Regions from separate parts of the Homo sapiens genome. Here regions 1, 2, 4, 5, 6 and 7 are each linked to region 3. Evidence: promoter capture Hi-C in 16 types of primary human blood cells and fetal thymus (Javierre and others, 2016). All regions are on one chromosome and are shown on one strand. Each heading gives the region's core, a stretch centred on a gene start or on the middle of the fragment in contact. The rest is flanking DNA. Distances are from core to core; before and after follow the strand shown.

Region 1 (3,790 bases), core at 653-3,152, 880 kb after region 3:
TTTTAGTAGAGACAGGGTTTCACCGTGTTGACCATGCTGGTCTCGAACTCCTGACCTCAAGTGATCCTCCTGCCTCAGCCTCCCAAAGTGCTAGGATTACAGGCATGAGCCACCGTGCCCAGCCTAGGTTTGAATTCTTTCTCCACCAATTTCTCTTTACCCTTGAGCAAATCGATTAGACACTTTACTCCTATGTTCTTATTTGTAAGGTAAGAATAACAACACCTACTTTAAAGAGGTGTTTGGTGGTTGAAGGACTCAATGAATAGTTGTGGTTGTTGATAGTCTTATCCAGTGTTATCTTTCCACTATACCAAGTGAAAATCTAACTCATCTGAATGTTTGCATTTAATCTACCTCTTTCACTGAGTAGCTTTGTGTGATTGTGGGGATGATTCTTTACCTCTCTATGCCTCTTTCTTTATCTGTCTCATTGGAAATAATGGTTCCAAACTCAGAGGATTGACATCAGAGTTAAATGGAAAAATACATCCGAAAGTGCTCTGTAAACTGGCAACAGTCATTTTTAAAGTGGAACTAGAGCCATTGATAGATGGCATGATTTGTGACTTAAAAACAATTGGGATTGCAGGGGTGGTTATGTGATTGTGTAAAAACTCAGAATTGTACCCCTAAAATGGTTGGATTTTCCTGCTTGTAGGTTATCCTCAATCTGATTTTTAAGAAAAAACAATTTGGGGGATTCCTGTTTTTAAAAGGTAGAAGTTTTCTTTTCTATGGACTTCTCAGAGCTTTAAATACACTAATGTGGATCATGAATTTCTGAGTGAAACATGTCCCATAATTGATCACTGCACTCCTTTTTTTGCAGAACATCCTATATAATTATCGTACTCCGGGAACCATAGGTTCTTGACCACTGAAAGCTTCACTGAAAAATCACTAATGTAAGGCAGACTGATTAACAGAAGAAAAGGCATACAAATTTATTTAATGTGTGTACATGGGAGCCTTAAGAATGAAGACCCAACATCCTGAGCCACAGTAAAGAATACAGACTCAGAGGGTGGCCAGAAACAGGTTATGTTGATAAATCAGCAGGTGATGAGGGAGAAAGTAACAATCTTGGCTAGCAAAGGTGGCCTTGTTATGTAAATGAAACCTCCCTTGGAGAGAATAGATGGTAAATGTTTCTTTTCAGACTTTTAAAACGGTCAAACACTCAGCCTCTCCTGGATTCAAGAAAGGCATAGAAAGGGGAGGGGGCATGGCGGCATTAATGGAAATTCTCTACAGATGCATATTTTCCCCACAAAAGACAGCTTTGCAAGGCCACTTCTATTTGCTGGCCAGGTGGCAGCCATTTCAAAATATGTCAAAGAAATATATTTTGGGGTAAAATATTTTGATTTCCTTCAATAGCAACAAACACAATTTGAGAAATGCTGCTGTAAACTACCAGGCAAATATATGCAGCTAACAGTTATTAAGTTTATTCCATGATATCTAAAGATTATAGAAGACTCAGATCACTTGACCCATTTGATCATGCCCTCCTCCTGGATGCGTTTTCTTTATTTGACTTACAGGATAACATCCTTTGCTGGTATTCTTCACACCTCACTAGCCACTTCTTAGTATTCCTTGCTGACTATATCTCTTCTTGCTAAACTCTAAATGTTGTAGTGTCCTTAACCTCAGCCTTTGAACTTCATTCCCTAGTTGATCTTATCTATTCTCTCTGTTTAATATCATCTAGATCCTGTTGAGACCCAAACATAAACCTCCCTCTCTAAAATTTCTGCTGAGCACCCCCACATCACTGCTTGGATTTTTGTGCATCTAAATTGACAAGTCCAAATATAACCCATACCCCATCAAACTAGACCACGCTTGTCCAACTCATGGCCTGTGGGTGGCATGCAGCCCAGGACAGCTTTGAGTGCGGCCCAACAAATTCATAAACCTTATTAAAACATATGAGATTATTTTGTGTTTTTTAAAGCTCATCAGCTATTGTTAGTGTTACTGTATTTTATGTGTGGCCCAAGACAATTCTTCTTCCAATGTGGCCCAGGGAAGCAAAATGATTGGACACCACTGAACTAGACCTTACCTCATCTTTCCCATCACAGTCAATGGCACTGCCATTCACTTAGCCAATTAATTGGGCCAAAGACACAAATTTCATCTTTGATTCCTTTTTTTATTTCACACATCAGATCTAGTCCTTCAACAGCTTTGGTCAGCTCTACCTTCAAAATAGATCCATAATCTGACTATTTACCATGATCTGCATCTCCACCCTCAGCCAAGTGACCCTCATGTCTCATATGGCCCACATAGTAGCCTCACAATAGCTCTCCTTGCTTCCACTCTTGCCCTGACATGGTCTTTTTTTTTTTTTTTTTTTTTTTTTTTTTGAGCCAGAGTCTTGCTCTGTCACCCAGGCTGGAGTGCAGTGGCACAGTCTCGGCTCACTACAACCTCTACCTCTTGGGTTCAAGCAATTCTCCTGCCTCAGCCTCCCAAGTAGCTGGGATTACAGGCACCTGCCACCACACCTGGCTAATTTTTGTATTTTTAGTAGAGATGGGGGTTTCACCATGTTGGCCAGGCTGGTCTCGAACTCCTGACCTCAGGTGATCCATCCACCTTGGCCTCCCAAAGTGCTAGGATTATAGGCATGAGCCACTGCACCCAGCGATTTTTTGCACAATAATCTGAATGGCCTTTCTAAAATGTAAATCACAACTTGTCATTCGCCTCCTCAAAACCTACCATGATATGTGATCATTTTTAGAATAAAACCCAAACTCTTTATTAAAGACTACAGGGCCTTACGTGATATTTTCCCTACCTAGTTTTTAACCATATCTATTAAAAATTCTGTCTGTTGCCACCACTGCTATAGCCATTCTGGCCTTCTTGCTATTCCTCAAATAGGTTAAGCTTGTTCCTGTTCCAGGGTCGTTGCACTTGCTTTGACTTGATTGTTTTCTCCAATATTTGTATTGCTCCCTGCCAACCCATTTCATTCAAATGTCACCTTTCTTCAGAGATACTTTCTTTGACTATTTAAATATTTTCTATCTGCAGTACTCTACATAGCATGTTTCACTAACTGATGGTATTTTAGTTTTCTCTTTGTCAGTCTCATTAAAAAACAAGATACGCTAAGGAAGGCATTTTTGTCTGTGTTGTCTACTACCGTATCCCCATGGCTAGAAAACTGCTTATCATGTGGTGGACATTCAGTTGATATTGAATGAATCTGTTACATTTTTCTTAGACATGGCTAGAAGAAAATTGATACTCAAAGAGTAGAAAACATTTTTATCAATGAAATTCCTTATAGATTTGAAAACATCAGCTATTAAGAACTCAATAGTACTCTCAGATTTGCTGTTTATCCACAAAAAACAGAACCTTCAGTTTCTATCTTTGCCCCCTTTCCCAATAGGAGGGCAGACCAAGTCCTCTGAGACAGATACTAATGATGATAATGATAATGATCATATCAACCACACTGTTTTAGTCTAATTGAGCTGCTATAACAAAATGCCACAGACTGGGACATTTATAAACAATAAAAATGTATTGCTCAAAGTTCTGGAGGCTGGAAAGTCTAAGATCAAGGCACTGATTGTTGAGGTGTTGGTGACAGCCTGTTCTGTTTTTCGAAGATGGTATTTTCTTTTTGTGTTTTTAATTGGCAGAAGGGGCAAGGCAGGAGTTCCCTTCGACTTTTTTTTTTTTTCTTTTTTTGAATAGACCAGGGTCTTGCTATGTTTCCTAGGCTGGTCACAAACTCCTGGGCTCGAGTGAC
Region 2 (4,162 bases), core at 395-2,894, 550 kb after region 3:
ATGAGGTATGGACAAGGAGAGGGGCATTCTTCATGGCTGCTATGCACACACGTTTCTCCCTGCAGCATGGTTTCAATCACCTTGACAGGAAAACCTCAAACTTAGAATCTGGGCTGAAGATGCTTTGTTTTTCTTGCTAATCAATTCTCTTGCGTTTTGCTAGTGGTAGAAATGTTTCAACAGTCACAGCTCAAAAGCCTGTGAGGAGCTCCTGGAAGACATTAAGTTCTCTACAGCAACGGAGCACGTTAAATGAGAAATAATTACTCAATGAGCAGGATTCTCTGGACTGTGTGGCTGTGTGTTGTCAATGCTTTCCCCCAAATAATAGATGAGTTGTGAAATGTGTAGGTGCTTTGGTATAGCTATTGTAATGTAGGAACTGCAATCCCCAGAAAGCGTCATAATAAACAGTAGCAAGACTGTGGTTCCACACTGCTCTGCCGTGACATTTCCTGGGAAAGCTGGGAGTCACTGCATGTCCACCTTGACCCAGGACCTGCCTGAGAGGTTCTTGGCCCGCTGTGAGTTTAGTGCTTCAAGGACCAGATAGGAACCCGTCTTTTTGAGCACCCTGATAGAAGCAGGTCCTGTCTCATCTTTTTGGCACATAAAAATAGTTCATTTGCACTAACATGTATCCATTTGGTGATACTCAAAGTGCATTTTGTTTTTCCCCAGGGTTCTGATGAAACATTGCTTGCACATCTAAGCAAGTCATGCTTCTGAGGCCAAGCAAAGAAAATTGCCAAAGAACAACAGTTTCCAGGATTCACTCAGGAAGAAATTTTCCTTTGGTCCTTTTAACAATGGATTCAGTTACTAGAAACCCGAGTGCATGGTCGAAGCCTCCATGTGCTGTCTGTTAACACTGCCCTTCACCTTTTGGGCCTCTGCCCCAGGGCTGGCCACACAGACTCTTTTTCTTGGGCCAGACTGAGGTTTCTTAAGTGTGACTCAGCCTGGGGACTAGGTCCAAGCAGAGGAGATAATTATTTCTAGTCTGGTTTCTCCTTGGGAGGAGAAAGTTCCCTTCTTAACTTTACTCTGTCACCTTTTACACCTTCTGCTGCTGCTCCCCCACATTCCCCAAGCTGGGTCCTTGGATCTCCACTCATTCTGTGCTTTCCCCCTCCCAGGTTTGTTCACTTCACAGCCTCTATGTGGATGACTTCAGGATCCCAGCACCAACCTGTTTCCCGAGGGCCAGGATTATTCGCCTGTCTGCCAGCTATTGTCACCCGGCATCTCAAATGCAACATTTCTAAATCAGATTCACTGTTGGTGAATTCTGTTCTTCCCACTTAAAACCACTTGGCTCGAGGGATAAGCTATCTTCAGTCACCTAGGCTTGCAAGTTCAACCTCCTGCGGTATCGGTTGCTCAGCCTGGGTTTCTCCCTCCATTCCCTATCCCCCTCTCTTGCTGGCCCATTCTTAGCACCTCCCCGTGGACTACTGCAATAACTTCCTTCCTCACTGCTCCCTACTTCTTGTGCCTTGAAATTCTTCACAGCGGCTTCATTGATCCTATTAACTTACAACTCTGCTTCTGTTACTTTCCTGCTAAAAAAAACTTTCTAGGGCTTCTCTCTTCTGTATCAAATGAAGGGCCCATTCCTCAGCCTGGAATGAAGGCCATTCTCAAGATGGGATCTCCTTAGGGAACGCATGTCATTCTCTTCCCATGTTCTATGCTTCAGTCATAATGAGTATAATCTACTTTTTTTGATCTCTGGGCCTTTCCTGAGAATCTGTTCCCCGGAATCTGCAAACTCCCATTCCCAAATCCATCCATTGCATCACCAACCTTCCAGGCCACCTTTCCTTCCCTTACTGAGATGTCATCATACTCTGAGGCTTCATTTGTGGCATGTGCACATAGGTACTTACATGTGTACTTGTGAGTTACCTGCACGCTCGAGTCCCTGGGATGGGCGCTTCGGCAGATGCCTGGTGTGCAAATGCTGACTACATGTGCCCAGGGCCCACATCTCACCACTTCCGAACCATTACATCCTTGCTTTCCCTACTCTTCTGACTCAGGCACAGGCAATACATTTGGCATAGAAAGAATGACCCTGTTCCCCCAACCCCTACTGATCTTATATTTTGCTGGAGGCAAAAGCAAATTTCCAAGATTCAGGTCAATGTCAATTTAGAATTATTTCTGCCAGTTGGAAAAGAAAACATTTTCTTTTAACTTGAGAAAATTTGAAAGCTACAGCCTTCTAAGGAAACAGGATACCTAACACACACACACACACACACACACACACACACACACACACACACACACACACACACACACACCCCAGCCTGGCTTTACGTAGCTCAATCCTGTCAGGCTAATCTAATCTTTTGTGACAGAGCAGCAGACCTGGTAGATCAAGGGGGAAAACAATAGTTGGAATTTATGTTTGTTGGCTTCAAAACTTTTGATTCCTGGGTCCCACTCAATATAATTATCATTAAATTGGTTGAAAGGTTAGAGAAAGGGAGAGTGCCAGTATGAGCTGGGGGTGGTGCTCACAGACAGAGGTGGTGCTCCTTAGGGGATCAGCCTTGAGTGCAGTGGCCCTGAACATTCACATGAATGGGCCAGATGACAAAAAAGAGAACATATTCAAAGTCAGCATTCATGTTAAGGGGTGGGGGCAGGTGTAGATAAATAACCAGCCAGAAAAGCAACCTTGGCAATTACATAAGTGATCAACACAAACAGGCAGACTTGTCTAGAAGAGATTTCATGTTTAGAAACAATAATGCACACAATCAGCAATGTAGCATTAATAAGAACGTGACATTGGGATGAAGAAATGCAACTTGTAGGAATTCCATAGTTCTAAACCTGCATTAACTGTATCCCTTTCCAAACTCCACAGCTAAAGATGGGAGGGAGAATATGGACAACATTCAAGGAAGAGCCACAGAAGTGATTGAACTGGGCTGGGACATGGGAATGAAAGACTTCTACAAAAAAGTTAAATGAATTAGTTTATTGAACTTGGAGATGGACACCCTTATAAGGGCAATAACAAACAAAAATAGAAATAGGTTTAAGTTATAACACACAAGAATAAAATTAGATGTAAAGACGACTTTCCTCAGTTTTAAGGTGGATAAGTGGGTTGTTAAATTATAACAGATTTCTCTAGGAGGGTCTGGTGTACTCCAGGCTCGCTGGGAGGCAGACCTGGATAATCTCTGAGTATATCTGTCCCCACCTGGCATTGTTGAGACCCTTCAGAGTACTTCTTTAGGTCCATGATTGAAAATTAAGAGGCAGCCAGTGCCTCCATTGTTATAAGGGCCATAAGGTTTGGTTATCTTTGATAAAGAGAAATGGAAACATATAACAGAGCTCTTCCTCAAGTCCTGCATTGGGAACATTAGCACACACCAGGACCTTTCCTATATGTAGACACAGTGCAGATTTGATCTGTGGTGCAGCCAAACTAAAACACAGGTCATGGCATTGTTTCCCCACTTTTGGTACAAACAAGCCCTTAATCAAGTCTCTAATCTAGGGACAGTAACATCGGCTATTTGAGTGCAGGCACCCTAGGTTGTTAATGTCTGTTTCCCAACACTATTCCATTCCAATATTTTTCTTTACCTAAAGTGGGATAATGATCATAAAAAAAAACACAATAATTTTCCTTACAACACTGCTGATAACTAATAATCACACAATTGCATGTAAGTTAATTCTTTAAATTTAATCAGTCATTTATAAAACTCCCCAATTAGTAAAAGTTGGCTTATTTTAACAGCCTTAAACATTGGCCACTATTTAAACAAGACATTCTAAAAAAAAAAGCAATCACATAATAGTTTATAGTCATTTACAAGTGGATGGTATACATTTAGATACAGAGGTAGAAGTTCACCTTTACAATGTTTCACTAATACACATATACCAAATTCAAGGCACAAAATAGTTTGCTTTACAAAAAAATACTGTAAAAATGTCATTTGCTGTTCTACAATGTGAATAAACCTTTCAAAAGAATCTTTACACCCTTCCATACATATGCCATAGAATAAGATTTCTTCCTCTCACTAATCATAGTTGGCACAAAAATGGGGACTTTTCAATGTAGAAGTTCCCATTTTTAAAAACTGTTCCTTTGCAGAGCTGCTATGTATTCTAGATAAGA
Region 3 (4,107 bases), core at 1,277-3,776:
AACTATTTTCCAAAGTGATTGCACTAGTGTCACTCCTATAGAGTTTATGAGAGCTCCACTTCCTCTCTCACTTTTGGTATTGTCAGATATTTTTTTTGAGACAACAGGGTCTTGCTCTGTCACCTAGACTGGAGTGCACTGGCATTATCCTGTCAGACATTTTAACTTTTGCCTATCTGATAGTAATGATAGTAAGCCTCGCTCTGTAGAAATATGAGCCTAGTCTTCAAACATGGCATAATAGTGTTTTAGATATTAACATTACATGCTCACTGGAGATAATTATATACCCCCCATACCATCTGTAAGTCACTGTTTTGGCTCCTATGTCAGGATCTTTTTATTAAATATTAACAAAAGAATGGCCGGGCGCAGTGGCTCACACCTGTAATCCCAGCACTTTGGGAGGCTGAGGCGGGTGGATCACGAGGTCAGGACTTCGAGACCAGCCTGGCCAACATGGTGAAACCCCCATCTCTACAAAATATACAAAAAAATTACAAAAAATTAGCAGAGCGTGGCGGTGTGCGCCTGTAATCCCACCTACTCGAATCACTTGAACCTGGGAGGCAGAAGTTGCAGTGAGCCAAGATCGCGCCATTGCACTCCAGCCTGGGTGAGACTGAGACTCCGTCTCAAAGAAAAAGAAAAAAAAAAGAAGACAGGTTATTATGTGCTATTTAGTATTACCTAGAAAGGATATGACTGGCATTGACTTTTCCCTCCTGAGAAGATACTTCTAACATATATGAAACCCAAGGGACCAGATATTGGATCCACTGTGATGAGTGTCAGAATTCTTGTAACCTCTTTTTTCCTTATTAGTATCTGTCATGCCAGGTTGTTGGCTCTGATGATGTCATAATGCTTTGTTTGTAGGGTCATCCGATGCTACTGTTTCCACAGGAACAATCAGCTTTTAGGCAAAGTGAACCTTGGACGGTAAAAGCTGATCTTCTGAGGTCATAGGAATAAATATATCTCAAAGAAAATACACTGGAAACTTCTTCTTTAAGTTTTCCTCTTTCATTGGAATATGTGGGTTTCCTCACTGTTGTAATGTTGATGACACAACAAGGCTAACACCGGATATGCTTCTGGCTGATTCCGGTTTACCAAGAGCATCCAAACATCCCTCAAGGACACAGTCATTTTGCACAACAAAGGGAAACTCCGCTCATTTCTGGCATTAAGGTGGACATCTGAGAAAGGGGAGGGTATACCACCATAACTTCTCTAGTGATGAATAGTGTTTAATATTATACCATAGACTAACTGGCGTATTTTAAAGATCTTTTTCCTTTTTGAACACATTTCAGATTAGAGAAGTTCCAGAGAACGTAATCTATTTTAAGAGTGTGAAAGAGTGATATTCCACATTGCTTTTATATCTTAAAGAAATTTCTAAAAAGAAAGCCGAGTCAATAAAATGACAGATTTTAAGCCTTCATTCTGGTAACATAAAAGCCTTCTACTCATTGTGTCTGCCACCTTAATTTTTAAAGATAGAGCATGAGGTGTAAGCTTTTGGCTTCCATTTTCCTCTTATAAACCAATGACATCTTCAGTTCCAGAATAGCTTTTTAAAAACGTGACTTCTGATAAATGTTGGCAGAACTGGTGCATTCCTAAAATAAATTATGTATGCTCAGCTTTCCCTACCCAAGTTCATCCCTAAATGACCACAAAACTGCCCACCACGAACTATGCTTAAGAGAAGTCTGGACATAATGGTATAAGTGTATATAACACGACATTGGTATATTTAAAAAAAAATTCATGCCTAGGGTCAATTCTGATAATCAAATTTAGACTGCTGCAACAACCGTAACTATTGTTGATATATGCGCAGTTTAAAAGTGAAGGGCGGGGGTAAGGGGCAGAAACTGCACACAACAAACTTCCAAATTTTGTCTCCCTTTTCAGGCAAGTTTCAGCTCCACAAATCTAAATACCCTCGCCTTTAAAATATCAGTGTCGTTCTGCTCTTAAATCCTCATCCCGTTGTACAAGGAAACCTATGTCTCTCTTCCCCAAATTAAGAATACGAGAAGCCTTCCAGGTCTGCAAATACCAGAAAGCAGCTGCGCATGAAGTTTTATGGGGCCCCAAGGCTCTGAGAGTGGGCTTGGAGGTATGGAAAACACATCCCAAGGGAAAAATCTGTGAACCGCACAACTGTGGTTGGAAACGAAATAGGAAAAAAACTGCGCGGAACCGGACGTCATCAGCATTTCGCGGTACACACGAAGAAAACAACCGTAGTCGGGTCAAAACTGGAGCCGTGTCTCCTCAGTAACGAGAGTAAATGGGGGCCCGACGCGTGAGCGGCCAGCCGGACTGAGACAGAAAGTACTCAGAGCGCCATTTACCGCGCCCTCGCCCCGCCCCGTAGCCCCTCCTCCCGTCCGCCCTGCGCGCCAGCCAATCCCCTCGCTCCATCCCCTTCCCATCGCAGACCCCGCCCCCGCGCCCGGGATGTTGAGCCCCCGCGGCGTGACGCGAGCACGGCAGCTCCTCCCCCTGCGTCTCTGGCCTCGCCGGTCTTGGGGGGATGGTTCCATCATGGCGTCAATGCAGGTGAGAGGAGTTTGCTGCATCTGGGCGGGCCAGGGAGCCGCCGAGAGAGTGCCAGCGTTCGGGCGGGGGTGGCGTCCGCGATTCGGGGACACCCGGGCGGGTTCGGGATCGGTCCGGGTGGCCTGTTTTCCCTCAGCTCAGGGCGTCGGGGGAGGGGTAAGAGGCGGCGAGAGGCGTTGTGGGGGGTGCGGTATCCGTCGGTCGAAGCGGACACCAGCCGGCCGGGAAGTTGGGTGATAAAGGAGGGTTGGGGAAGAAAGGGCAAAGTCTGGCGTTGGCGGTCTCAGAATCGGCTCCCCGCACACACACACGGGCGCTGCCAGTCTGCTGCCCGCCAGCCCCAGGGTTGCCTTTACCCCCGCTGTCCCTGGCCCGACGGAAACAGCTGCGCCCGCGGTTGTTGCCGGGGCAGGGGCGGCGGGGGGCTGAGTGTGCGGGAGCCGAGAATGCGTCTCCGGAGAAGGCGGCTGGCTGCGGACGGCGCTTAGCGGCCTCTGCTCCGGCCTCCCACGCCGGGCCCCCCAGACTGCTCGGCCCCGTCCCTCTCTTCTTCCCTTTGACTCTTAATCCTGTGCCCGTGGGTATCTTCTATTTCCATCAGCCTCGGTATTCTCGCGGACATTCCTCCAGCAGTCCACTGTCTCCTTCCTCTCGAAGCTGCCCCGTGTCCACCGCCTGATGGGCGATCTCCCGAGAGCCGAGTCCTCAGCCCCCTTAAACCTCTCGGGATAGCTTGCCTTCTATTTTGTTTCCCACTGCAAGGCCCCACCCTTGCGGTCGCGATAAGGCTATACATCTCTTTGCCCTTATTCCCAGACCTTTAGTGGAACCTTAGTTTGGTAGGAGGCGTTTGTTAACCTGTGCCATATCCCCCCGACTTAGCAAGGCGTGGTTTTCTGGCTTTCCAACTTAATTTACTCCTTTTTCCCGAATCTAGGGAGTTGTGGGTTTTTTTGTTTTTTGTTTCCAGGCAAAGATGGCAACCACAATTGTAGTTGTGCAGGGATTGAGTGCGTTATCTGTAGCCTGCATTTAATTCACAGGTGAAGACTAGCGGTATCAAAGGCATTGGAAGAGAAAGTAGAACGCTCAATAGGAGTGTCAGCTGAGTACCCTTTAGCGTTTTCATAATATCCCCTTGGGTAAAGAGACCACATTTTCTTAGAAGTGTTTTTTGCTTTTGTTTCTGGAAGAAGCAAGTCTCTGTTCCTCCTCCATTTTTTTTTCTTTACTCTGCTAAAAGTGTTTTTCTTCCCTTTTCTGCATCTTCTTCCTCTTTTGTACAAATATAGCTTTGCTTCACATTTACTCCTGTGCTTTTATGTTATTCCCCTTTCAACCTGTTTTCCTTACAATATTCTCTTTACCTTGCTTCTCCCTCTGGACTTGCCTGCAGAACAGAAAAGTTTTATGTAACATTTCTAGTTGAAGAGATATCACGAATGGTGCAGGGAAAAAACAGGAACAATTTCAGGAAACATTATACTTTACACTAGTCTCCCCAGAGACGTTGGAGAAGTTTCGTCA
Region 4 (3,787 bases), core at 282-2,781, 710 kb after region 3:
GCCTGTAAACTTCTCTAGAACCTCTTGGTGTGTTTCTATTCACCCGTGGCCTTGGACCTGATGGCTATGTAAGAACACATGTAAAAGATAAGTGTGAATGAATCAACGTTTTTCCACTGATGGGATGGAAGATGGGGAGGGGTGGTGGAAGGCTTCTGTTCTTGAAAAGTCTACTCAGGTCACTAGTGGCCTCCTGGGACTATTTATGGCCTTGTTTGCTGAAATAATGTCAAGTCTAGCATGTTACCTGCCTTGATATCTTTTATCCCACTTGCCATCTGCAAACCCAGACCCACCTGCCTTCCTAGTCTGCTCATGTCCTGAATCAGTAAGGACTTAAACAGATTCAGCTCTGTTTTCGGGGGCTGAGGATCCAGTTACTGTTGGGTACTTGCCTCCTTGACTGGCTGCCCCAGCCTTGAAAACTGGATTCCTGCTGCATCCCTAAGCTTTCTTTATAACTTCTCAAACTCTGCCACACTGTTCTGACCCATCCTTCCCAGGCTTCCACCCAGTGATTCCCTGTATATCTGTTTGATCCCCAGTTCCAGGGTTAATAACTGCCAGCACTCATTCAACATCTTTACAGAGTGGTATCTCTCACAAAGCTCCTCCCTGTGGGTTCCACTTCTCCTGTGGCCCGCTTGATCTCGGGACCAGGAGACAGACAGAGTGTTCTCCTTACATCCCAGTGTGGCCTCCTATACCCTGGTGACACACTTTGCTCCTTTGCAAGGAGAAATTCTTGGTTACATTTGTGTGGATGGCTTCACTGGTCTTCAGGGAAGCCCCTGGCAAAGGGTAGCTGCTGCTCTGCTCCACACTCACTGCTTGGTGCAACCAAACTACTGAGAAGGTATTGAGGAGTGGGTTCATGCATACGATGTGCAGACGGTGGCCAGGGAGGGGATGGCTTTGAAGTAGGGCAGACCAAGGATTTCCTCCGTGACTCGTTCACCTTTTCCATGAGTTCTTACACAGACATCGGGTCCAAGGACATGGGTGAATAGAAACACATCCAGAGTTCTGGAGAAGTTTGTACAGGGCTCACCGAGGCTGAAAGCAAGCCAGCCAAGTGGGGAAGCAACTCAAGTGCCCTGTCTGCAAAGCTTTACTGAGATTTATTTGGAAAGTTATGGTCTCTCCCACAACGAATCTGTAGATTGCCTTGCTCTGATTACAAGAAGAACGTTGAGGTCTTCATTAACAGTCATCATCAGATTCCTTCTCTCCTTAAGGAGATTAATTAGGTAAATTTCATTACAGTAACATCAAGTTTCTTGGAAAGAAACCATTCAACTTGAGAATGACTTTGCGTTTATATCTGGAAACAAAGCAATGTGAGTGTTTACAGTGAAGAACATGAAACGTTAGGTTTTAATAGATGTTGATGTCATTCTTGGCCTCCTGCAAATGATATAAATGACTCTGTGAAGAGGTAACACATTGTTAAATGTAACCAAAATGCGAAGAAAGAAGTGAAATGTACACACATGACGTTCAGCCCTGCCTCCCACTTCCCTCCCCTGACTTCGCCATCTGAGCTGAACCAGAAAACCACTTCCCTCCCCTGCCTTCACCATCTGAGCTGAACCAGAAAACGGCAGCTGACATGCCCCATCTGTCAGATGTCAAAGAGAGAGATGGAGGACTCTCTCTCGTCCTGTTTAGTGGGCTGATGGTCTAGAATTTCCAAAGGGGAGCCCAAATGGCCAAGGAAAGAGAGGCCAGGTTCAGACCTGGCTCTGCCACGACTTGTCTGACCTTGGACCAATCACCCCCTCTCTGGGCCTCAGTTTCCCCACATATGAGCTGAGAAGTCTGAACTCACAGGCTTCCAGCAATCATCATAAAACTGCTGAGAGAATAACTTTCCCACCATTTGGGTAGATTGTACAATATGCAGCCATTTGACAACTACCCTTTCAGCCCCAAGGGAATATAGAAGCTTTTTTTTTTGGTTTTGAGATGGAGTCTCATTCTGTCACCCAGGCTGGAGTGCACTGGTGCGATCTTGGCTCACTACAACCTCGCTTCTCTAGTTCAAGTGATTCTCCTGCCTCGGCCTCTGAGTAGCTGGGATTACAGGCACACACAACCACGCCTGGCTAATTTTTGTATTTTTAGTAGAGATGGGGTTTCACCATGTTGGCCAGGCTGGTCTCAAACTCCTGGCCTCAGGTGATCCACCTACCTCAGCCTCCCAAAGTGCTGGGATTACAGGTGTGAGCCACCGTGCACAGCCAGAATATGGAAGCTTTGAGTCTGAGTCCTTGAACCTGCCCAGGTGGCCAATCTGTGGCTGACCTCAGTGACAGTCCAGGGCTAGGACAGTGTTGAAACTCTGCCGCTCTGCTCCACACTCACTGCTTGGTGCAACCACAGTTGTTGAGGAGGTATTGAGGAGTGGGTTCATGCACACATGGGCCCGTGGTGGCCAGGGAGGGCATGGCTTTGAAATACGGCAGACCACGAGTTTCCTTAATGACTTGTTCACATTTATCTTCTCCATGAGTTCTTACATAAACATCAGGTCCAAGGCCACAGGTGAACAGAAACACATCCAGGGTTCTGGAGGAGTTCTGTCAGCTCAGAGACAGACTGTGTCAAAGCTTGCTCTTAGGACCTGCTGCCCCCACCCCGCTCTGTCCTCCATTGGTTTTGCCAGTTTTCAGAGTGTCACCCTATGTGACTCATTCTCACACCATTGCCAGGTGGGCAGGGCAAGTGTTACGTAGCATTGCTAAATGGAGCTCAAGTGTGTTAAGGAAATTGAAATTTAGACACAGCATACAATTTCTTCCATAATGCTGGGGAGAGGGGCGTCTCTCTGTGATCTCTCAGTACCCCTAAAGCCATTCTGCACAGCAGCTTTGGATGATTGGATGACTTTGGGAAGAGTTAGGCAAGGTCCAGAGTGATCTGTATATCTGATTTCCCCTAATAATTAATTAGTTAGTTTGTTCTTCTGTGGAGGCTTTAGGACCTGGCTAAGCTTTTAGTCGTCCTCTAGATCAGGGGTCACTAACCCCCAGGCCATGGACTGGTACTGGTCTGTGTGTGGCCTGTTAGGAACTGGGCCACACAGCAGGTGAGCAGTGGGTGAGTGAGCATTACTGCCTGAACTCCACCTCTTGTCAGATCAGCAGTGGCATTAGATTCCCACAGGAGCATGAACTGTATTGTGAACTGCACATGTGAGGGATCTAGGTTGTGTGCTCCTTATGAGAATCTAATGCCTGATGATCTGAGATGGAACAGTTTCATCCTGAAACAATCTCCCCTGTGTCTGTAGAAAAATTGTCTTCCATGAAACCAGTCCCTGGTGCCAAAAACGTTGGGGACCACTGCTCTAGGCCCCCACGTGACCTGAGTGCTAAACTGGACTTTCTATTTAAGACGTTAGAGGGTCTGTCTCTGAGGTTCCTCCTCCACCGTTTCTGACCTAAAATGTGTATGGATGGAACACGAATAATCAGAGACATGCTAGGACTCCACGGGCCTCCGAACAGATTTGCCTGGGCCTGGAGAGTCCAGGAGATACCCGCAGGCTCTAAGGCATTTGGACCTTCCAAGGAAGCAGGGATGTTGGGCATTTTTGCACTGACTACACACGCCCTCAAAATACTGTGCTCTGTTCTGGACTCAACAACTTATGAGTGACAGGAAAAAGTAAGATGAAAACTCAGAGGTAAGCCACAAAGATGAAAAAGTAGATTGGTAGATGTTATTTTTGCATGAAGATGGAAAAACTAGGAAGAGGCCATTTTGGAGAGAAAAAGTCAAG
Region 5 (3,838 bases), core at 898-3,397, 580 kb after region 3:
TTGTCATGGGTTAGATATATTCAAGTTACTAAAACCGATTCATTAGAATTTCCCAAAGATCTCAAAAATCTGAAGCATGATCAGAGTAAAAACAAATGTAGGAGAAGAGAATAAGTGGAGTGTGAGCAGTTAAGTATTAAACTACAGGGTTTGTAGTGACCCAATCCTGCAATGAATGGCTAAGGGCTCTGCCGGGGCACTCTGCATTCAGTCTTTTTGAGAAAGCTATTCAGTCAGTGTTAGCATTAGCACAGGCTACACAATGCTTCCACTTTGACATATCCTATAGATTGATTTTATTTGGGCAGAAAATGGATAAAGCCTGGGATGTAGAAATAATGAGGCAGAAAAGAACAAATACCAACTTTGCTTCCTTCCAGGAATTGAGATAAATAACACAACTCACTCCATGATCAAACAAGAAAGGGCCATTCCTTGAGCCAAGAATTTCATGACTATTTTACAGGGACTGCCATCTTAACATATAAAGATATTATTAAGTGAACATGAAAATGTTTTGAACTTGTTTTTCTTTCTCAGGAATAGTGACGGATTTTTTTCTGAACTATTCAACTTCTGTTGTCTTCAAGTAAAACAGGACTCAAATGGCAGAACAGCCAAGCAGAGGCTCTTGTGTGAAGCATAAGTGTGTGCAAGGCTCTCTCCAGGCACAGTGAGGAGTCCAGCCCATCTGAAGTTTACAGTAGATGAGGGGATAAATAGGTGCTGACCTGGAAAAGCAGGTGGAAATCAGCTTTGGAAGGCCCAGGATGCCATGCTAATGAGCCTGGACTTCACGCTGTGAGCAATATGGTCATACAAGTGTTTTAAGCAGGCAGATAACAAACTCAAGGCTGCTTAGATGACCCTAGGTTGGAAAGCCAAAAGCGAATACAGGAAAAGAAGATCAGAGGCACTTTCAAGAGTCCAGGCAAGAGGTGATGGAGGCACACAGGATGAAGTAGGAAAGGAAAGGGGCGATCAATCAAAGCACAGGGGCACAAGCAAATAGTCAGGATTTGGGGACCCATGAATGTACGCAGGCTGGAGAGGTGAAGATAATGCTGATGTTTCTAAGCCTGGTGACCAGGGAATGCAAGAAGGAGCAAAGAGGAGTTTGTTCAGTTTTGTGACATGCTGCTTTAAGAGAATGTGTGGCGCAGTCAAGGTAGTTGAAGGCAGACAGAGAAGCACGACAAAGTGGGCTTATCATGGAAGCTAAAGCACTTGAGTTTCAAGGAGACGGTCAAGAGGGTCACATTCTGTAGAAAGATGAAGCTGCACACTGGATTTGGCAATGAGGGGAGCATTGCTGTTTTTTTCATTTAGGTTAGAAATTATGACATTGGTTATTTAGCAGTTATTTTTTAAACAACTGAGAAAAACAGACACAGATTAGAACATATTGAAGATGTTGGAGAACTTTTTATCTGATGCAGCGTCTGGTTCCCTATTCACACCAGCTATGTAAAGTGATATTTTATCATGTCATAGATTTTGATTTCTAGTAGCAACAGATTTGGGCCCAGCATGTAATGTATCAAATACAGAAACTCAAAGTTCAATGAGCATGTGATCCTATTTGGTGTATATAGGTATTCAGTCCCAGGTACCAAGCAGTTCCTATCAAAAGAGATGTTTTACTCAGTTTTCAACTGTGACTACAAGAATAAGATAAAATTGACCCCAGGTCAATTTACAACTCTGTTTAAGACATTGAAAGTACTTCTAAAGTTCAAACATTTTTATACATATGACATATATTTAATAACAGAAACCAGTTCTACTGGAGACTTCTAAAAATAGGCCATGAATTCCAAGTGTTTAGTAGCTATCTTAAGATAGGAAATCAATATTCTCTATAAACTAATTAGTCTTACAGTTATTATGGTAAGGAGAAATACTGGCCAAATATTTTTATGAATACTTTAGAAATGATTTTTGAAATTCTAAATGTAAGAAACCTTGAACAAAACTAGTTTCTGTAACCAGAGAACACAGGAATGCAGTATGTGAGATTAAAAACCAGTAAATCACATAAGAACCTAAACATTAATGATTAGGGACCATTTATGAGATATTAGGTACAACTGCAGCACTAATGTCTTTAAGTGCTACATTACTCAGATCTAGCTGGTGGGCTTTTACTTTTCCTGGATAGATTTTAACTAAATAGACTTTAGACATTTGGATATAGATAAATGCTTAATTCAGTAATTAGTATTTTAAAACTGTGAAACCTTTTAAGTTAAGTGGTCTATTAATTAACTACCAATTATCTTGTCTGACTACCATATCAATAGAAGTAAATTACCTACTAGCTATTTGACAGATTTAGTCCTTTACCATGCAAAAATTCTTCAGAATATAAAAGGCCTGGAGTTAAATGCTTTTGCTTCCCCCTTTTGGTTAATCAGGGATCAATTTGCTGCTCACGTATAAAGGCCAAATGCAGCTCTTCGGTTAAAAAGGATCTACAGATAAACTTTGGCTTTTAGAAATAGCAAGCTAAGATTCTACTTCTCTTAAAAAATAACAAGTAAAGCAATGTTAGTACTTTGAGGAAAACATGGGTTTGCATGGAGACCAACTTTCCATATTTCAAAGTAGAATACAGAGAGATATTTTTCTTTTCCTTTTTTTGAGACAGAGTCTGGCTCTCGTCACCCAAGCTGGAGTGCAGTGTTGCGATCTCAGCTCATTGCAGTCTACAACCCCTGGGCTCAAGCCAGCCTCCTGCCTCAGCCTCCTGAGGAGCTGGGACTACAGGCACGTGCCACCACGCCCAGCTAATTTTTGTATTTTGGTAGAGACAGGGTTTCGCCATGTTGCCAACGCTGGTCTTGAACTCCTGGGTTCAAGCAATCCACCCTCCTCGGCCTCCCAAAGTGTTGGGATTACAGGCTTGAGTCACTGCACCCCGCCCAAGAGAGGTATCTTTCAAGTTTTTACATCTCACCCAGATACAAACAGCCCACATGAATAATTTCTATGCTAGTGTTAAAGTGCATGATAGTGCATTCATTTTCCATGGTCTTGTACTGGGTGTTTCACAGTAGATTATGCTGACTAGAACCTACCCCAAATCTATCACTAAGTCTTGACTGGTGACCAGGAGAAGGTTCCTAGGAGAGCTACTGGTGATGGAACAACATTGGAAGATGAAGCGTCACAGCAGACTGGAAGGCTGTACAGAATTATGCCAGGCTGAGGAAAGGCTTCCAAAGGGTACAGAAATGGTACATGGTTAAGAGGGAAGGAAAGAATTGCCAAGGGGGTCCTCTTTTTGAGGACTGATCATTGGTAAATATGAATGGCTGTTACACATTCATTGTGAGCTTCATTCAAACTGGCATACCAACACCAGCCTTATCAAGTCACTAGCCTCACACCAATGAGCAGAGTTCTAACACAAAATAGTAAAAATCAGAACACATGTGGGACAGGGAGAATGGAAAGTTATGTAGGAAAGCAAAAGAAAATATGAGTGACAACAAGGGTGAGACAGCCCTGGTTTGCAATAATGGTCTTACACAGCTTTAGTCCAACATAATGCTCACCTTTTTCTTTCTTGAGATGGAGTATTGTTCTGTCACCCAGGCTGGAGTGCAGTGGCGCCATGTCTGCTCACTGCAACTTCGGCCTCCCGGGTTCAAACAATTCTCCTGCCTCAGCCTCCTGAGTAGCTGGGATTACAGGCTAGCACCACCACGGCTACTTTTTTTGTATTTTTAGTAGAGACAGGGTTTCTCCATGTTGACCAGGCTGGTCTCGAACTCCTGACATCAAGTGATCCGCCTGCCTTGGCCTTCCAAAGTGCTGGGATTACAGGTGTGAG
Region 6 (3,615 bases), core at 995-3,494, 600 kb after region 3:
ACTAGCATGTCCTCTTTGAATTTAATTCATGGTTCCATAATTCTCAGTCACCTCAATTCCCAGCCTCATTCAGCTTTGACTCCTTTTTCTCTGCTGAATCTCCCAAATTAAATAATCAATCTTGCATTCTCACTGTGACCACTCTAAATACTCTGGACTATTATGATTGCCTTGTAATTTCTCTTTTGGGCTCCAGTCTCTGCCATATTAATTTTTCTAAAGCATAGCTGTGAATAGAAACCATACCTCTGTTCAGAATATATACCATATGTCTGTTCTGTGGTTCCACATTACTCAAGAAAATATAGACCACTTTGTCCAGCATTCAGATTTGTCTGTAATCTCATCCAATTTATCATTTCATTATTTCTCACACTGCCTTTATCTGAACCCCTCCCTCCAGGCAATCCAGAGTACTTACATTACATTCTCTGTGACATCTTTCCCATCTATATCTTTTCCTGGAATGCCTCTACCTACATTTCTGCCGTCTAAATCTTATTTAAATGCCATTTTCTAATTTCTTTAAAGTCTTTTTTGAATCTCCCCCGAAAGTAATATCTCCCTCCTTTTAACTCTTCTACTACTTTATATATCTCCTAAGGATTTAATTTATACACACCGCTTTGTATTATAGTTGTATAAGTGGCTACTGTTTTTTCTTCTGGACTGGAAATTCTGTGCAGGCAGAATCTCTCTTTAGTTATTTTTGTGTGTTTTTTGTGCACGTGACACATTTATGTGTATATCGTACATGCTTAATGAATATATTTAAGTGAGTTACTACATTATTTGAGAATAAAAAGTCACATGTATTAGCCTATTGCTAGCTGTAGTGACAAACAGATCCCAACATTTTCTTGATTTAACATAGAAAAGTTATTTCTTGCTCACATAACAATTTCAAGGTAGGCGTCCCTGGTCAGCAAACGGCTTGCTTTCACTTGGTAGAAGGACCCAGACTCTGCCATTCGTCAGCACTTCACTCTTGTCTAAATCCAGTCAGCAGAAAGGCAAGGAGAAACTATGGAGAAAGCATACTTGCTTAGCTTCTTAGAAGCTTCTTGCAGTGTTACACATTACATTGGCTCACATTCCAGTCACAGGGAGGCAGCCACTTCCTAGAACAAACGCTATTCTCTGGAGGAGGAGCCAGGATTTTAGTGGACAAACAACCTTCTCTCCCACAGTTGATTTCTACTTGTGAAAACCTTTGGGACTTAGCTTGAACATCACTTGCTCAAAAAGCAAAAACAAACAAATAAACAAACAAACAAACAAAGAAAACCTTCCTACTTCTCCAGTCTGGTTAAGGTCAGCAAAAGTTCTGTTGTGCCATAGAATTTGAACGTAGCTTTATCGTAATGAACTAATTACTCCTCCCCACTACCTCCCATAGACCATGTGCTTTATCTTTAATCATTGTTGTATTACAACTACTAGCACAATGCATGACATGAATAAATAAATATCTTTCTCAATGAATCTATAACTCATCTTTCTTTATGTTCACTTGGTAATTATTTTGGTTCAAACAACCCTAAAATTAAAGATTATTTTGCCACCTGCTGTTTGACATTTGAGTTATTTTCATTCTCTTTTCTATTATAAGAAATACAGGAATTGATATTCATGTATCAATGATTATTTCTTTTTCTTTTTGTGGAGACAGGGTCTCATTATGTTGCCTAGGCTGGTCTCAAACTCCTGGGCTCAAGAGATCCTTCTGTCTCTGCCTTCTAAAATGCTAGGATGACAGGTGTGAGCCACCACACCTGGCCAGTGATTATTTCTTTAGGATAAATTCCCAGAAGTAGAATTGCTGGGTCAAAAATATATACAATTATAAGGACATGTATATTACTAGATTATTCGCTGGAAATATTACACCAATATATACTCCCACTGAAACCTTATTCCTTGCACTCCATCTTACTCTATTAATAGTAAAGAAAAAAATCCCTGCCATTTTGATTGGCGAAAGTAGCTCATTATATTATCTGCCTTTTATTTGAGTACTAGAGAGAATGAATTTTTTATTGACTGTATTTTCTCTGCAACAAGTTACCTGGTCTTTAATAAATGCACTCTCAGGATTATTTTTCTTTTCTTTTTTGATTTTAATATATACATATATGTATATATGTATGTATGTATGTATATGTGTGTGTGTGTATATATATATGTGTATATATATGTGTATATATATATGTATATGTATGTGTATATATAAAATAAATTACTGGCCAGGAGTGGTGGCACATGCCTGTAACCCCAGAACTTTAGGAGGACGAGGTGGGTGGATTACCTGAGGTCAGGAGTTCAAGACCAGCCTGGCCAACATGGTGAAACCCCTTCTCAACTAAAAATGCAAAAAAATTTAGCTGGGCCTGGGGCCATGTGCCTGTAATCCCAGCTACTCAGGAGGCTGAGGCAGGACAACTGCTTGAACCTGGGAGGTGGAGGTTGCAGTGAGCTGAGATCGTGCCACTGCACTCCAGCCTGGGCAACAGAGTGAGACTCCGTTTAAAAATAAATAAATAAATTATTCAGTTCTTTATGTCATTATTTAAAAAGCTATTCTGGGAACTTCTGGGCAATGTGGCAGACTGAGCTGGCATGGAAGGGTCCCCATTTTGCTTCAATATATTTCAAATGCTGAGTAAAAGATAATTTATGGAAATGTGGCTAAGCTAGGAACAAAGAAAAGGAAATCCCCAGGTGCCTGAAATGAAGGAATGTTCACAGAGAAAGCCACCGTTGAGCCATCTGCTGAAAGCTGGGAGTCACAAAGAAGTACTGTTCAGTTACTATGGCTTCATAACAAATTTCTCCAAAACTTAGTGGTATGAAACAACCATTTATTGTGCTCATGGATTCTGTGGGTCAGGAATTCGGACAGTGCACAGCAGAGACAGCTTGGCTCTGCTTCAGGATGTCTGGAGCCTCAGCTGGAAGATTTGAAGGCTCAGGACGGGAATCTCCTGAAGGTTTATTCACTCACATGTCTGGTGGTTGATGCTGGCTCTTGACTGAGACCTTAGCTGTAGATGTCAGCTGTAATCTTTGTATGTGGCCTCTCCATGTCACCTGGCTTCCTCACAAAATGGTGGCTGGATTTCAAAGGTGAGTGTCCTGAGAGCCAAGTGGAAGTCATATCACTTTTATGACCTAGCTTTGGAAATCACATAGTGTGGTTTCTACTGTTTTTTTGTTTGGCTGAGGAAGTTGGTTTCAGGGAAAGAAACATCTCACCTCTTGATGGAGGAGAGGAGGAACATCACAGTGAAGGAAGAGCATGTGGGACTGCATATGCATTAGTACACCTATCTTTGAAAAATAAAATCTACCACAAGAACCCTTTGACCCTAAGAAGATAACTAGAAAAACATCCCCTTATTGACCTGAGGAGGCAAGAAGGAAGCTTGCCATCTACTTGAGCTATGGTAAGAAAAGAGTCAGCTGCTAGAGATTAGAGATTAATGGTCCATACTAGCTCAAGTCTGGGGTCTGAATTCATATTACTACATGGTCAGGACCGTAGTCCAAGAAATTGACATTTTAGCTGGTCTGGTACCTCTGACACCCAGGGCCAGGCAAAGATCAATGAAAAAC
Region 7 (3,675 bases), core at 699-3,198, 850 kb after region 3:
CTTTCAAAAACTCTTCTACGGCACTTTATTTCCATGAATTCAAGTTTTAAAAACTGCTTTATTAAGGTATAATTGATACATAAAAAGCATGGCACATGTTTAAAGTATACAATTTGATGGGTTCAATTTTAATTTCTGGTTCTCCCCACCAGTCTCCAATTGAACTTTTGGGAATCGATTAAGTTCCCGTTTGTTATAGTTAAAATGGTTTCCACATACACACAGCATGACTATTTACACCTCCATGCTTTCACTAGTAATATTCCTCTCTCCTAAAATGATATTTCCTCTTCTATCCATCTGTAAAAATCTTAACCATCCTACAAAAGCCCCTGTTCAAGACTACTACCTCCATGAAGCTGTCCATCTCAACTATTTCAACACTGTGTTAGATATTTTAAGTAATCTAGAGATGATTTAAAGTATATGGGAGGATGTGTGTAGGTTGTATACAAATATTACACCCCCTTTTTTTTTTTGACAGGGTCTCGCCGAGGGTCACCGGAGTGCAGTGGCACAAACACAGCTTACTGCAGACCTGCCGGGCTCAAACAATCCTCTCACCTAAGCCTCTTAAGTAGTTGGCACTACAGGCATGCACCACCAAGACTGGTTAATTTTTGTAAAGACAAGGTTCTGCCATGTTGCCTAGGCTGGTCTCAAACTCCTGGGCTCAAGTGATCCTCCTGCCTCAGCCTTTCAAAGTGCTGGGATTACAGGTGTGAGCCACTGTTCCTGGCTATTACACCATTTTTGTAAGACACTTGAGCATCCATGGATTTTGGTATTCATGAAGGATGGATGTCCTAGGACTAATCCCCTTCAAACACCAAGGAACAACTGTATAAGCTTTATCAGAGCAAAATATTTATTTCATCTAGTCTTCATAACATGGAGGTTTCCATTTTTCTAGGATTTGTCTGACCTCACAATCACACTTCTGATTCTATACTTGCTTTACTTGAATCCTTACTGGTAACTGTCATGACACTGGTGGTTTGATGCTTTATTTGCCCTGGTTCTGCTTCCACGATGGTTTTGGTATTTGCTCGATTCTTGATCTTTACCCTGTTTCTGGTTTTAGTTTTGTTCCCTGTAACTAGTGTACAGCAAGTTCTAATGTATGCCTGGTAATGAATGAGGCAACAAGGATACCAAGCTAATTAAGATGCTTCAAAGCTAAGTAAGAACCTTCAAATAATTCTCAATCTATTGAAAGAATCAGGTAAACAAATAAGTTACCAACGAAGATAAGTCCTTTTATAGAGATGTATGCTATGAAAGCACAGAAGTAACAACTCTGATTACAGAGCTGGGCAAGACTTCATATAGGTGATCTCTGAGATAGACTGAATGGCAAGGAAGAGCTTGCCTTGGAGAGAATAAAATGATAGGAATTCAAATAGAAGGAACAAAGCTTCTGTGCTGCTAGAAAGTACCATGTATGTGGACAGGGAGGAGTTCATGCTTAGGGATAAGACTGTATGTAAAAAAAAAAAAAAAAAAAAAAAATGGGTCTACGTAAGGCTTTATAAGCCATGCCAATAAATTCTGACTCATCTAGTAGGAAATAGGAGCCAAAAGGTTTTTAAGCTGGGAGTGATCTAAAGAGATTTATTTTTGTGGAAGCTAACTCTAGAAGTTATGTCAAGGATGGATTTGAATGGTACAAAGCTATATAGATAAAAATAGATTGGAGAAGCATTTCTGAGGTGCGGTTCCTAATACTTGGAGAGCAGCTGGATGTGTGAGGTTAAAGAGAGGCAGGGTGTAGAGAGGCAAATGAGAACATGAAGAGTTCTGTTTGGTACACATGGATTGCACTGTGTTTGTGTCTAGGAGAGCATCTGAAATAAGTGGGTAGCACTATATAAGGAGAGTCCATAGGAAGTGTGCTCATGATTATCTGTAAGAACCATGGTATTAGCAATATTATCATGAGCAGGATGGCTTGGCCACAAGAATGTACTGGGTATTAGTATCATTCAACTTTGATTTTTGAAACAAAAGGAAGTAATTGGGCCAATAAAAATGGAATCTCTACTTCTTAAATTGGAGTTTAGAAAAAAGTACATCAATGTGAAATAAGACTTTAGTACAGCCTTTGGAGAGATGAACCCCTGAGGAACAAGTCATGCTTTGACAGGCAGGAACAATAGGAGGGGCCACTATAAGATGACAGAACCTCAGTCCTAAGATGTGACAAATGCAGTGTAGATCCAACTTGAACCCCAATCTCCACCTCTAAATAAGTAGTTAAGATGGGGTCCCTGCAACACTTAGGTCATGGTCCCAAGAAGAAAGTAATATTACATCCATTTCCAAATATACCCATCCAGAGACCACAGAGATTTGATTATCTGGCCTTGGTTTAAGGGTAGAAGAACAGAGAAAACAGACCATGGGTTCAACAGAAAAGAAGATCTTTATAATGTTAAGAGTTATATCTTTCTCAATAGGGGAAGATACTTAAGCTTCTAAAACAAAAGACAACAATCACCCCTGAAAATCCCTAAAGAAAAAATAATTTTGGAGACTTAACAACTATCTCTCAATATATAGGACTGACACAACTTGTTTTCCTCCAGTATTAAAGCAAATCACTATTTCTTCAGTTGAGCACCAGATGAAGCAGTGAGCTTATGCTTAGAGAAGATATATGAATAATATCTTAAAATACTAGACTCTTAGTACAGTGAAACATGAATCACATAATGAGAACATGTAGAATCTAAACACAACTAAGGGGCACAGGAGTCCAACCTCACCCTTGTTCCTAAGCATACCCCAAGAATGGTAAACTATCCACATTATTTAAACTGTAATATTTTCTTATTCTCTACTTTTGCTTAGCATATATAATTTGCACAAGTCATGAAATAACTCTACAGTACTTCAAATACCTAAATGTTAATCATCAGCAAGATAACATGCTACTCAATAATTATTTTTAATAAAAAGACATATCAATTTTACATAAAGACAGAACATTCATAAAACAAAAAATATACAAATTGATTAAATTACAAACCTTTTTCTTGTATCCAAATTAGCTTCAGTTTCCATTTCAACATCATTACCACTAGGTTTATCTTGAGAAGTTATTGTTCTTGTCCTTTTGCTTTCTACTACTTTTGCCGCTGCCTTAAAAAACGTGCGTGGAGGTAGAAGGATAGGAAGAAATGCATTAAGCCATTTTAAACAAATAGCATTAAATTAAGCCTTGTAATTCTTTGATAGTCATAGCTAATGTATCTGTTCACAGGCCAATGAAGGGCACTGTGTTGTTATTTTCACCAATAATTATGACACTGCCAGCAGCTACATTAGCTATCTGCTTGGTTTATCAGCGTTACGAAGGTGGTCTTTCCTTGTAAATATATTTGATAGACAAAATGCTCTCTAGGCAATTTTAAGAGAAAAGGCTGCATGAAAAAAAAAAAAAATAAAAATTCTAGATATTTTCAAATAAAAACTATCTCAAATCAATCAAGATGCTCCACTATAACACTGTCAACTTAAAAATTTGGAGGCCAAGACAGAAAATAAAATGTTATTAGAAAAATTTTATTGTTGTTTGTTTTGAGACAGGGTCTCACTCTGTCACCCAGGCTGGAGTGCAGTGGCACAATCACAGCTCACTGCAGCCTCAACCTCCTGGGCTCAGGTGATTTC

The links. The method cuts DNA at HindIII sites, captures the fragments that hold promoters and counts their contacts. A CHiCAGO score of 5 or more calls a contact.
Region 1: a contact is called between a fragment that was not itself captured here and the fragment with the promoter of UBE2W in region 3, in 5 of 17 cell types (naive CD4 T cells, naive CD8 T cells, total CD4 T cells and 2 more). The highest score is 8.7, in naive CD4 T cells.
Region 2: a fragment that was not itself captured here is called in contact with the fragment with the promoter of UBE2W in region 3 in 1 of 17 cell types (M0 macrophages); the score reaches 5.2 in M0 macrophages.
Region 4: a fragment that was not itself captured here is called in contact with the fragment with the promoter of UBE2W in region 3 in 1 of 17 cell types (total B cells); the score reaches 7.8 in total B cells.
Region 5: a fragment that was not itself captured here is called in contact with the fragment with the promoter of UBE2W in region 3 in 11 of 17 cell types (naive CD8 T cells, neutrophils, total CD8 T cells and 8 more); the score reaches 10.4 in naive CD8 T cells.
Region 6: a contact is called between a fragment that was not itself captured here and the fragment with the promoter of UBE2W in region 3, in 8 of 17 cell types (naive CD4 T cells, total CD8 T cells, non-activated CD4 T cells and 5 more). The highest score is 7.9, in naive CD4 T cells.
Region 7: a contact is called between a fragment that was not itself captured here and the fragment with the promoter of UBE2W in region 3, in 1 of 17 cell types (non-activated CD4 T cells). The highest score is 5.6, in non-activated CD4 T cells.

Annotation. Positions count from the first base shown.
Region 1 is chr8:72,999,422-73,003,211 of GRCh38, reverse strand. No RefSeq gene overlaps it. Among named protein-coding and RNA genes, the nearest start is that of TERF1, 7.5 kb to the left of the region's middle. RefSeq lists enhancers at 489-1,031, 1,032-1,575, 1,576-2,118, 2,119-2,663. The HindIII fragment of the contact is 2,026 bases long and covers 890-2,915 here.
Region 2 is chr8:73,324,103-73,328,264 of GRCh38, reverse strand. The region is part of intron 3 of RDH10-AS1 (RDH10 antisense RNA 1); the gene reads left to right. RDH10 (retinol dehydrogenase 10) reads right to left here. Exons shown (of 6, transcript NM_172037.5): 6 at 2,984-4,162. Among named protein-coding and RNA genes, the nearest start is that of RDH10-AS1, 30 kb to the left of the region's middle. The HindIII fragment of the contact is 8,611 bases long and covers 1-4,162 here.
Region 3 is chr8:73,877,281-73,881,387 of GRCh38, reverse strand. It overlaps UBE2W (ubiquitin conjugating enzyme E2 W), which reads left to right and starts at 2,526. Exons shown (of 6, transcript NM_018299.6): 1 at 2,526-2,580. The coding sequence starts at 2,566. LINC01617 (long intergenic non-protein coding RNA 1617) reads right to left here and starts at 2,406. Exons shown (of 3, transcript NR_147034.1): 1 at 691-2,406. RefSeq lists silencers at 2,294-2,583, 2,724-2,773, 2,794-3,053 and enhancers at 2,440-3,317, 3,794-3,843. The HindIII fragment of the contact is 3,471 bases long and covers 1,527-4,107 here.
Region 4 is chr8:73,166,316-73,170,102 of GRCh38, reverse strand. The region is part of intron 2 of LOC107986891 (a long non-coding RNA gene); the gene reads left to right. Among named protein-coding and RNA genes, the nearest start is that of SBSPON, 75 kb to the right of the region's middle. The HindIII fragment of the contact is 839 bases long and covers 1,112-1,950 here.
Region 5 is chr8:73,301,491-73,305,328 of GRCh38, reverse strand. The region is part of intron 2 of RDH10 (retinol dehydrogenase 10); the gene reads right to left. Among named protein-coding and RNA genes, the nearest start is that of RDH10, 8.8 kb to the right of the region's middle. RefSeq lists an enhancer at 584-1,085. The HindIII fragment of the contact is 9,398 bases long and covers 1-3,838 here.
Region 6 is chr8:73,279,303-73,282,917 of GRCh38, reverse strand. It overlaps a transcript of C8orf89 not described here. Among named protein-coding and RNA genes, the nearest start is that of RPL7, 13 kb to the left of the region's middle. The HindIII fragment of the contact is 2,364 bases long and covers 1,063-3,426 here.
Region 7 is chr8:73,026,409-73,030,083 of GRCh38, reverse strand. TERF1 (telomeric repeat binding factor 1) reads right to left here. Exons shown (of 10, transcript NM_017489.3): 6 at 3,032-3,144. Among named protein-coding and RNA genes, the nearest start is that of TERF1, 19 kb to the right of the region's middle. The HindIII fragment of the contact is 1,057 bases long and covers 1,420-2,476 here.